Linked DNA regions of Homo sapiens: region 1 is linked to region 2. Evidence: promoter capture Hi-C in human tissues and cell types (Jung and others, 2019). All regions are on one chromosome and are shown on one strand. Each heading gives the region's core, a stretch centred on a gene start or on the middle of the fragment in contact. The rest is flanking DNA. Distances are from core to core; before and after follow the strand shown.

What was found. Contacts are between HindIII fragments. The study calls those that stand out against the background at their distance.
Region 1: a fragment that was not itself captured here is called in contact with the fragment with the promoter of ARHGAP11A in region 2 in 1 of the 25 tissues and cell types used here (lymphoblastoid cells).

What each region holds. Positions count from the first base shown.
Region 1 is chr15:32,953,469-32,959,437 of GRCh38, reverse strand. All of the region lies in intron 9 of FMN1 (formin 1), which reads left to right. Among named protein-coding and RNA genes, the nearest start is that of GREM1-AS1, 240 kb to the right of the region's middle. The HindIII fragment of the contact is 8,182 bases long and covers 1-5,969 here.
Region 2 is chr15:32,614,090-32,620,165 of GRCh38, reverse strand. ARHGAP11A (Rho GTPase activating protein 11A) reads right to left here and starts at 4,662. Exons shown (of 12, transcript NM_014783.6): 1 at 3,826-4,662; 2 at 1-58. The coding sequence starts at 3,954. ARHGAP11A-SCG5 (ARHGAP11A-SCG5 readthrough) reads right to left here and starts at 4,690. Exons shown (of 14, transcript NM_001368319.1): 1 at 3,826-4,690; 2 at 1-58. The coding sequence starts at 3,954. It overlaps ARHGAP11A-DT (ARHGAP11A divergent transcript), which reads left to right and starts at 5,420. Exons shown (of 3, transcript NR_135833.1): 1 at 5,420-5,729. The HindIII fragment of the contact is 9,261 bases long and covers 1-6,076 here.

The sequences.
Region 1 (5,969 bases), core at 1,243-3,742, 340 kb before region 2:
GCTGAATTGATGCCAGAAAACTCCAAACCTGCCTCCTATAATCTTTGCTCCATGCCTGTGGCCAGATTTCCAACATCAAGATGGATCCCTTGGTCTCTTCTGAGAGTCAGATGTTTGTTTTCTTTCCTCTTGAAAATGAAAGTGGTTTTAGAGGTGGTGAGCAGCTGAGGAGTTTCAGCATTGAAGGCCAACTCCTTCAGCTGGATCATGGAATGGTTCCCATATGAGAAGACCAGGAGGATACTTGCCAGATAGGTCTTTTTATAATGACTGAACAAGAGAAAGTGCTGGGTACATTACTGGATTTCAAAATCCAGAATTCTGAATCTTGGCTATAGGGCTTCAGCCAGCATTGAAACGTGAATATGAATGTCTTTTTTTTTTTTTTTTTTTTGAGACAGTGTTTCACTGTTGTCGCCCAGGCTGGAGTGCAATGGTGTGATCTCGGCTCACTGCAACCCCCACCACCCAGGTTCAAGCCGATTGTCCTGCCTCAGCCTCCCAAGTAGCTACGATTACAGGCACCCACCATCACGCCCAGCTAATTTTTATATTTTTAGTAGAGACGGGCTTTCACCACATTGTCCAGGCCAGTCTCAAACTCCTGACCTCAGGTGATCCACCTGCCTTGGCCTCCCAAAGTGCTGGGATTACAGGCGTGAGCCACTGCACCCAGCCATGAATATCCCTTAAATAGAGCTGGTCTTCATCCCTCAGCACATTTCACGTTTGTATTTCAGAAGTAATGGACAGAATGATCAAGAGTCTGTGGAACTCAGATACTAATTTCTAGCTTCAACTACTAAAATAGTATTTAAATTTCATATCACTGGCACTTGTTTAAGCATGTATGTATGTATGTATGTATGTATGTATGTATGTATGTATATCTTCTCAAACTAGGCAGGGATCCTGTTCTGTAATATCATGTAGTCTAGGAATTAGAAGAAATCTTACCCATCATCTTATTTCTCTCATATGGCACATAAGAAACTAAGACCGAGAAAGATAAAGTGACTTGTAGGGGTTTGTACACTTTTAACTGGGAAGACATTGATGATGATGAACACTTGTTCATCAGCATGTGTCTGCATTTCCCCTTTATTTAAATGGTAACTTGCCACCTTGGTGATAGTATCAACTTTTATTCGGGTGATTTATTTGAAGTTTATGAATGAGAGTAGCCATTATTAAAAACATCAACAAAATATAGCCACACTTCTGCATATCCAAAGTATTTCCTACATTGTGTAATTATCCATGGTTTTCTTCAGAGTCTTCCAATAGGAAGCCAAATCTTTGAGTAAAAAGATGTGCTTTCTATGTAACTCCAGCAAAAGGCATATATAGATTTGGAGCTGGTGTTTTTCTTTGACCTTATCAATTCCATTTAAAATATTAGCTATAATAAAATAAATTTATTACTAATTATTACAAATTTATATTGCATACTTAGATAGGTGCCATTCTCATTTGTGATACTAGACCACTCTGCCACGACAAACATGGCAGTAACCAAATTAAGAACCAGAGCTCAAGATACCAGCTGTCAATGGAACCACCACCACTTGCTACTATCTCTTATTTTTTTCTTTCGTAACATTCAGAAAAAGTCATTTAACCTTCTCACACTGATTTCTTCTCTACGAAATTGGGAATAACACCCCCTTAATATGGTTATTATAAGTATAATATGAAATTATAAGAGTACGTTAAGTATTCTTTGCATTAATCTCTTAGTTTATGAACTAATGTGAAAGCTTTGGAAAGAAATTCTTAAACATCTTTGATTCCCAAGGTTTTTAAGGTCTTAAAGCATTAATGTGTCAATTCCTAAAACTATTTGCAAATGGGAATCTCTAGATTATTCTTGTTTGTTGATATTCATGGAAGTATCCCACAACTTCCGTTAGTGATACATTCGGACATCTAGTAGTACATATCGTGTTTGTATAGTCTCTTTTCACTGAAAGATAAAGAGTTTCCCCTGTCAATATGTCATATTTACACTGTCTCTAAGTGACATTTGTTCCTGAGCAAGGTAGGTCAGCACCTTGACAAGGAGCCAGAAATCCACCTTCATTGTCTGTGATTCTTTCTCCTGGTTCCTGTAAAAAAAAAAAAAAAAAAAAAAAAAAAGAACTGCTCTGATAAACTTTCCAATTGTGTTTTAAACTTGCCCAACGACATTCTGAAAATCAGCATGATCTGCCAATATTCCTCCTTTTTTGAGATGCCATGATCTGACTAAATTATAAATCATCTCTGTTTGTTTCCTCTTCTGTAAGATATGTAAAAGGATTCCTCTCTCCCCGTCTCCCTCTCTGTCTCTGTCTTTTTAATAGATATTTCTTAAGAATTAATGAGATAATGGCTATTCCCCAAACACTTTGGGGGAAGGGGGTTGTGATGGTTCAGCAGATACTAGTCTGTTGAAATTTTGTGGTGCCAAAAGCCTTCAGCATTGATTGTAATTTGGTCACTTTGGCAAGGATCATAGCTGTAATTCTCAAATCCCAGACTTTATGTCTCAGTTTATTGGGGAGGGGAGAAGGGTGGAAGAAGAACATTGTTTGGAAGCCTGAACATAAATTTATAGGGTTTTCATAACCTATTGCTTTCCAAGTTTATATTATTTCAGCTTTGGTGTACAAAGATAATTTCTCTGGGCTCCCTCGGTGTAAGGAATGTGCGTTAGTTTTTTTATATGAGGGTGGTGATAGGTTTGTCTACCCCTTTACGTTTTTCACGTGTTGACAACTGAGCAATGGGGTTAGGGATTATCATCTATAGAAGTGAGTGAAATAACTTGCCCATGTGTTGATTGTACTAATATATGACCTGGGGGCCTAAACTAGCGCTCTGTCCCGATTTCTTGAGTGATATCTGGAATGATCAGGGCTTTCCTGTTCTTCAGTTTAAGGACTCCTGACTGGCCGCATTTACTGAAAGGAAACAGGAGCTCCATGACAGGCACCAGTTTACAAAAATTCCACCTTGTAAATTTTATTTGGAAATGAGACAGCCCCAGAAGTTGTACGTTTATTTTATTTGCTTATTTTTTTAAAAAAAAAAAAGAGTGGTTAGGACTTGTCAAATATGAATATCAATGATTCTTTCAGAATGCTGCATCTGAGTATTATTCTTGGAGTTCAACCATGTTTCTCTTGTTGGCTGTTCAACAGTAACTTGATCTGGATTTGTGTCTCCAGCCAGCTGCATTTAGGATGCTCTTTTCCTACCCCACACCACAAGAGGGCACCTTAGAATGCTGAGATACAAAGATAAAAGTTGCATGGATCCTAGAACCCCCAGAACAGGAACCTGGAAGAGAGTAACTGCCCCCAGCTCTCTCTTTAGTCTTCTCATATCTCTATTGTGGACCATGAGGCCAAATTTCACAGCAAATTACCCACACAGAGTATTGGGAGTCAATTGCATATTAGAAAGACTTGAAGGTATTAGCAGAAAAAAAATCATTAGTAGCCATGGTTCCAGTGCTTAGAATGAATGATTGCAGTATAAAAATATATGGAATATTAGAGTTAGCGTCTTTGGGACTGATTCTGGAATTCCTTTCTCACCACACACACAGACACGTGCGCGCACGCACACACACACACACACGCACACGCACACACATCTTTAAAATCTTCCATATCGGAAGAGAGTGAAAAGCAAAAGTTTATTTGAATATAGATTTGGGGTTATCTGTTTGGAAAACACAAAAAAGTACAGGATATGCTATGAGAGAACCATTCTAAATATTTATGCTTTAAAAAATATTTATCTTCTCGTTGAGGGAAGTTTTGAAGTCTCGCCTATATTTTCCCAAATCTCATTCATTTATCCTCAATCCAGGCCATTTTCTGAGATTCTGTTACGGGGTTGGAGCTAGACAACAGGATGAGGCTGAGCGCCTGTGCTTGGGACCTTGATGGTGATAGTGAGTCCTCTGGCCTTCAGTTCCAAGCTAGAAGTATGTGAAGATGTAACAAGAATAGGGAAAGATCATATATGTATACTTCGGTTGCAAGTCCAGGTCACATGGATGCTTTTGAAGGTGAACTTGTAAGTGCTTTGCAAAATACACACATCTCCCATGTATGTGATAGTCAGAACAGCCCCTGCACATGCCCTCACAGGCACATGCTTAATATGAACAGAGAAGTCTCAATGACCTTGGATTTATTTGATGTCATTCAAGTGGAGATTAAAAAATAAAGATATCACTAGTAGTGCCACTGCTAAATGAGGAATTTTGGTTAAGTGCCTGTCATATATTAACTAATTTGATCAAAAACCCAGTGAGACGGTTCCTATTATTGTTCCTGTTTTATACATGAGAAAACTGGAGTTTAGAGGGGTTGGGCAACTTGCGTAGTACCACATAGTTCTAAAGAGCAAAGGAATGTTTCCAGCAACAACCCCACAGCTTATTTTTTTGTTTGTTTTGAGACAAAAAGTCTCACTCTGTTGCCTAGTCACTGCAACCTCCACCTCTCAGGTTCATCAAGCAATTCTCATGCCTCAGCCTCCAGAGTAGCTGGGACTACAGGCACACCTACCATGCCTGGCTAATTTTTGTATTTTTAGTAGAGATGGGGTTTCACCATGTTGGCCAGGCTAGTCTCCAACTACTGACCTCAAGTGATCCGCCCACCTTGACCTCCCAAAGTGCTGGGATTACAGGCGTGAGCCTCCGTGCCCAGCCTTGTGTTGTTAATTACTTGATAAATGGGCATTCGTCTGCATTTAACTGCAAGTTCTGACTTTAAATTCACTTGGCCAAGACTGAATTTTATTTTTTGGTCATTGTATAGTGAAAAAAGTGCCCAGCTTTGGTGTCAGTAAACATAATTTCTAATTCTGACTCTGACCCTAACCAAATATCGAATCCCGAACAAGTCCTTTAAATTCTCCGATCTCAGGTTTCTCATCTGTCAAAAGATAAACTTTAATTATATGAATTCCAAGGATCTGGTCATGACTTCTTTGCAGATGAAGACACTCAAGATCTGCCAACTTTCATTTTATTTTTAGAAGGCAGATAGATGAGGGTATTACACATTGAGCAATATCTTAGCGCTCAGATCCAGGCCTAATCAGATGGATAGAGCTGTCTCAAACCATCAGTAGCATATTGTATGAGCCATAGGTACATGGGGGTTCAGGAAATAATTGTTCTGATTTTAATAATCCCCCAAATGTAAGGTATATATATTGGAGAGTTATTTTTAAACAAACCAAGTTTTTTATGTAGTGGGGGTATTGAAGTACTGGAAATATGATAGAGAAAACTGCAGTGGAAATTAGCAGCCAGAGATCTCGTCTTGAAGGTAACTATTAGTTGTTGTAGTTGTTGTATGTCCAGTCATGTAACCCCTCTGACCTTAACTTCTATACCTAACATGGCATCTGGAGTGAAAATTTGCAAATATGCTTTCCAGATGCAAAATCTCAGAACTTAGCTGAATGTGGATACGTTCCCACATACATTTTTAAACTGAGTGTGTGTAAGATTGAAACAGTGAATTTAGATTTTTACCTAGTCAATGAGCGGCATGGGATATACTGCAAACCAGACTCAAACCACAATGTTCCCACCTTCCGGTATACAGTATTCTCTCTTTGCAGTTGTCCTTACATAACAGAAATGCATTTGGCGGCAGCAGCCAGTGGTGGAACTGGCCAGCCCCCGTTGTGCTGGGGTGGCCCTCCACCATTTTTTCCTCCGTCTCCTAGCAGAGTTTCCACGGTCGAGAGGCCTGGAGCTCAGGTTACACCAGACAAAACTGTCCACTTACTTCCTAGGATAGTCTGGCTGGACCCCAGTGCTATGGCCACACTTCCAATTTTTGATAAAATACTTTTGACCCAGAGCTTCATTTCATTTAGACCTGACCTGATTTCCCTCCAGCTGAGGCTAATTTGCATGGCTGTAAACACGGACCTTACAAAGCTCACCA
Region 2 (6,076 bases), core at 3,413-5,912:
CATATTCTGGTACAGCAGAATGGGGCAGTGCATTAAAAGGTACTCCAAATATTTTACCCTAAAATGACAAATTCAGTTACTCTAACACAAATATTAGGCATAATATCAGTTTTCTTAAACTTTAGGCAAATTAAAGAACTCAGGAAATTAAAAAAAAATCAGAAATAAATGATAAACTATCTATCAAGACAAAAATAATCATTTCAAGTGCATTTGATAACAAATAATTACTATATTAGACAGTATGCTGAGTGCTGGGAGTACAAAGATGGCCAAGATAATGTCATTCCCCTCAAATAATCTAGTAAACTCAAGTTTCCAATCTGATCATAAAGTCAATTTGGTTAGTGGTTAGTCAGTAAATTCTTAAAACAGAATTTGGTCCAAAACACTAACATTTACCCCAAAATACTATAGGTTGCTTTAATGACCTTATAAATACTTACTAGATACTTTCTTTTGGTCACCTTATAAATACTTACACAAAAGACTAAGTCAATTGAAAAGCAAAACACTAATTCCTGTCATTCATTGAGTCTTCCTAAAATTACATCAGAAGAAGTTATTTTTATACCTAATACATTTTCCACCTTCTATAGAAGAGTGCTTTTCAAACCATGCCCTGCAGTAAGCAAGGCAGGAGTGTGCAAATATTTAAGTCAAACTTCATTTAACTAGCTGGAAACCCATTTTTAAAACCTCACATTCAAATTTTAATACACTGAAGATCCCAAGAGTAAAGCTGTGTGTTGGTTAACTTGAATGTTTTTGCACACTGAAGAATAAAGAATCTGCCACTATCTTTGTGCATGCATTCGAACCTCTTAAAAATGTGTCGCTTTCCACAGCACTGAAAGGTAAATTCAAGCCTGTAAATGTCTGGTTATTCAAACTTAAGTGGGTATGCATAATCTCACATGTTAATTTAGTTTACATGCATCTGCTCTGTGAATGCTGAAGTACTTTTTTTGATGTCACAAGTTATCAACCAAGAAGTATTTATGTTTTATGAGCATTATATTTAACTTTATATTTACAATAAAAACCACTCAGCATTGTCAATGACGCAACACAGTAACAAAATTTTACTAATTCCCTTTCAAGCACCTGGCTCCAATTAATTTACAAATATTGTAAGCTGAAAAGACAGTATAGTATAGTAAGTGCTTAAGAGAGTAGGCTCCTGAAGGCAAAAATGACAGGTGTATTTTTTTTGAGAGGGAGTCTCACTTTGTGGCCCAGGCTGGAGTGCAGTGGCGCAATCTCGGCTCACTGCAAGCTCCGCCTCCCGGGTTCACCCATTCTCCTGCCTCAGCTTCCCGAGTAGCTGGGACTACAGGCGCCCGCCACCACACCTGGCTAATTTTTTTGTATTTTTAGTAGAGACGTGGGGCGGGGGGGGGGGGGTTTCACCGTGTTAGCTAGGATGGTCTCGATCTCCTGACCTCGTTATCCACCCGCCTCGGCCTCCCAAAATGCTGGGATTACAGGCGTGAGCCATCGCACACACAAAAATGCCAGGCTTTACATCTTAACTCTTGCTTAACAGCTGAGTGACCTGGATCAAATTAACATTCTGTTCCTCGGTATCCTCACACAGATCCTAAGTCATAGAGGTGTAGGAAGAATTAAATAAATTAAAACATACAAAACACTTGTATCAGTGTCTGACACACAGTAAGCATTCAAAAAATATTTGTTAATATTATGATCATCATTTTAAGCTGAACTATTTTAAAAAATGTTAGTATGGGCAACCCCTTTATTGGGTAAATCAGAATTTTCTTGATACTGTGCAGCCAAACCAAATGTAAAAATAAACCAGATACTTAAGCTGGTAAGTCTACTTCTGCTATATATAACTAGAATTCAGCGTGTTTTTTTCCTTAAGTCTTATTATTTAGAATAACTGGCCTCACAAGTAACCACTATAATTTAATCTCATAAAATGTTTTTAAAACTTAAAACTACAGTTAGCTAACAAACACCAGTCGGCTAAAGAAATTGTTTTCAAACAAACTATCCCATTAGATCTCCTAACACAATGATCTTCTATATTTCTTCATTAGAATATTCTTATAAGTGTTTCTAGCTGAATTTATATGGCATGATTACCAATTAGGAGGCAGACCAATGATATGACAACTATCATTAGATGAAGAAGTGGCATGTTACCCGCACTGTGCTAGGCCTACATAAAGAGCTTCACTTTTTAAAAATCCCTAAATAATCCAAGGAGAAATACGTTCCCACTTTATATATATAAAACTGAAGCTTAGGGAAATCAAACAAGCAGCCCAAGTTTACAGATGTAGTAGGGGTGGAACAGCACTCAAACTCAGGTCTATCTGACTCTGAAAACAGGCAACAGTTTTTCTTGTTAAGCGGTGAAAAGGCCGAGTGCAGTGGCTCACGCCTGCCATCCCACCACTTTGGGAGGCCGAGGCGGGCGGATCACGAGGGCAGGAGATCGAGACCATCCTGGCTAACACGGTGAAATCCCGTCTCTACTAAAAAATACAAAAAATTAGCCAGGTGTGGTGGCGGGCGCCTGTAGTCCCAGCTACTCGGGAAGCTGAGGCAGGAGAATGGCGTGAACCCGGGAGGCAGAGCTTGCAGTGAGCCAAGATCGCGCCACTGCACTCCAGCCTGGGCGACAGAGGGAGACTCCATCTCAAAAAAAAAAAAAAAAAAGGAAAAGAAAAGAAAAGGGGTGAAAAAAAGTCCATATACAAACTCTTCCATATACTTACAAAATCAGCTACATTTGAGATCTTGGAAAGCCAGTTTTACAATCAGAAAAAAATCACTGTAGCTTTTTAAATGTAAGTACATGTATTGCCATTAATTTGCTACCAACAAAAATAACTTCTCCAAAGTTTATCAGCGATTAAGAGGCACACATATTACTTTTGTTAGTGGTTTTCTTCTCCAAGCACTTTTTTTAAGAAACCATAAACTATTAAAAGCAACGTATATTAATTTTATTAGCTTGTCTCCAAGTACTAGGAAGTACCATATAAATTAGGCACATAAATTTAAAATAAAATGCTTTACATTCAGCTTATTTTTCACAATGGAATTCCTGATTATGTGGCAGAGCTATTAAAATCTCATTCAAAATCCCTTTATTTCAACCACCAAAACATCAACAACTTCTCAATTATTCCACTCTGGCTTCTCAATTTACTCATACAAAAAAAAATTTACTGTCCCAAAAGTATGACATGGCCAAGCAGCAAATCTGTTTCCCAAATTAGTGAATATGCAGTCATCATTTGAAGCCTATTTCTAATGTTCTGTCATACTTCTTCATCTACAGATTCATGTAGAAAATGCACTGGTCTCCCTTGTCCCTCTACAACCTTACTCTAAAACAAGGGTGGAGGGGTAGAGTTTTTGTCCCTCCCAACGTACTACCTGTTCCAAATACAGTAAGCTGGCAATATCCGGAGACATTTTTAATTGTCACAACTGAGAGATGCTACCAGCATCTAGTGGGTAAAAGACAGACATCCCGCTAAACATCCCACAATTCACAGAACAGCATTTCGTCTTCCCCTAACAAAAATTATCTAATCCAAAATGTCAATAGTGCTGAAGTTGGAAAATCCTGCAACTTTCTCTCAATGATCAAAAATCCTTGGGGGAAAAAAAACAAGAATGTCACTTTTTAAATATCAGCAATCGACCATCTGAACTGAATTACACACCTAACCATTCTTTTTGATACACAGAGTGAACATTTTAGCACGATCTGGTAGTAAGTGATGATAAAGGGTGTGCCCTTTCTTTTAAACCTAAATCCCTTTTCACAGAACTTACCCCTATTTCCGTGGCTGCTGTTTCATGTCTCCTGCGATCGCACTGCCCACGGACACCCTTCACCTTAATACCATAGAAGGCCCGCAGATGCTGCAACAGGGCCAACCTCACCAGCCTCTGATCCCACATTCCGGATACGTCGATAACTCTCTGAGGCAGGATGCAGGTCCTGACCCTCGTTCGCCACCAAGTCTTCCAATTTCCAAACGCTCTCAAATTTGAACTCCGCTCGGCTGCTTTCCGGCCCCGTCTGGCACTTCTGCGGCCCCGACCCCCGGCCACTTCCACGGCTTTTCCTTGATCCTCACTCACATCCACTTACACAGACCCGCTTCTCTTAGCCCTTTGATCCAGCCACACCTCACTCTTCCTTCACTTACACCGACCTTCTTTCTGGTCACCCAATGCTTTCAGCTACTCACATAGACTTCTTTCTGATTCTTTCGGTTTCTCGTCTATTGCCAGATTCTCTCCACTTCTTGCTACTTCCAACGATCCCCCTTCCTCCAAACCTTACTGTCCCCGTCTGGTTCGCTCTGAAATGTGAAGAAAACCCTTCTCGCTCCTCCAGCCCCAGCAGGCTCAACTGGGCGCTCGCCCCCGCCCTAGCCTGGCCGCCGGACCAGCCGGCTGCTCAGGCAACTCTTCCAGTCCCGGTGCCCGCCCGGGCTGGTAGCCGCCGTCACCCCGTCTCACAGGCTGCTCGTTCCCTCCCCCATCAGCCTGCCTCTACCTCCCGGCCTGCACATCCCGGTGCGTTCACTGAAGCCAAGCCGTTAGCCTCATGCTTCCGCCCCCAGCTCCTCCGCAGACACCCAGAGCCACCACGGGGGGGTCACACCCGCAGTTTCAGCCCAGGCTCAAATGGCAGCGCGAAACAGCGCTCCACATCTGATTGGTCCACTCCTCTTTTCAAAATCAGGACCCCGGAGGGTGGCCGAGAGCTGCCTGTCTAGATAAGTGCGGGCGAAGGGGTGTAACGGGCAAACCCAGCAAACATGAAAAGCAGGATGAGTTTCACTTGTTCCTTCAAGGCCAGTTTTTGGGGCGGGGGAATACTGTTTAAAGGTTTTTAAATACACCTGACCTGCGCCTCAGACCATTCACAGTATTTGAGGAAATATAAAAGACAACTTATTCCCGTTCTTTTCCGAGCTTGGCTGTCGCTGAAGGCCCTCTTATGAAGAAACCGTTCTTACGGAAGCCCAGATGAGACAACTTGAGACAGGATTCAGAAACGCTGATTTTAGTAACCTTAACCCTCGGCCCTTGGTGGGAACTTCGGCTCTGTGGGAATTAGTCTTTGGGGGACTGATGGTCATGCTGAAATCTTATTGCGTAGGAAATTAAGTACAACAAAGAAGACCCGTCGTGAGAGGAGAGTGCGGAAGAAATGCGAAGTCTACGGGAGGTGGCAGCTGCAGAAGCTTGGTGTTGGATTTGGCGTTAGGAGACCGGGAGGAGCCCAGCTTCCGGTCCAGACGGTTATCTTGTTGACTTGCACGACTGCAAACGCCCTGAGCTGCTTTTGCAGTCTGAAACATCAGCGATCCCATCAAAATATTCTGTTTCTTGGGATATAAGAAACATCCCAAGGCGGGCTGTAGAGCGAGAGATTTGGACTCGATTTAAATACAGACAAAATAGTATGCATTTACTAACACCACATCTCACCCCCACGAAACTTGGTAAGGGCAGCAACAGAACTTTATCTGCCATATGCACTCCTGTATTCCTATTACCAAATAGTGCCAGGGACTAAGTGAATATTTGTCCAATGAATGAGTTTTAAGTAGGAAACGTTTGCATAGAATCATTTTGTTTCTTTTGGAGTTCAAATCTTCGGATATTTTACCCTTCCCAATCCAAAGAAAAGTCTCTGAGTGAAGAGATGGGAACAAAATGTAAGTTAAATATGTTGCTTTAACAACTGTTTATTGAACTCGTGCTATAGACTATAGAATGATGAGCAAAACCAGGCACAGTTTCGGCCCTGGAAGAGGAAAGGCAGGCATATATTTATCAAGTAAGTACATTAATGGCGGCACTTATCAGTTGAGAGAAGTGCGCTAAGGAAAGGAATATGATTCTATGATAGCGTATAATAAAAGATCCTTGACCGGGGAGGGGAAACGTACCAGTGATTAACTGATCTGAAGAATCAGTATAAATTGACTTTGTAGAAAGTATAGGTGGATGGCTGAGTGGGACCATCATTCAGGAAGCAAATGCCTGCAGAAAAAAACATCAA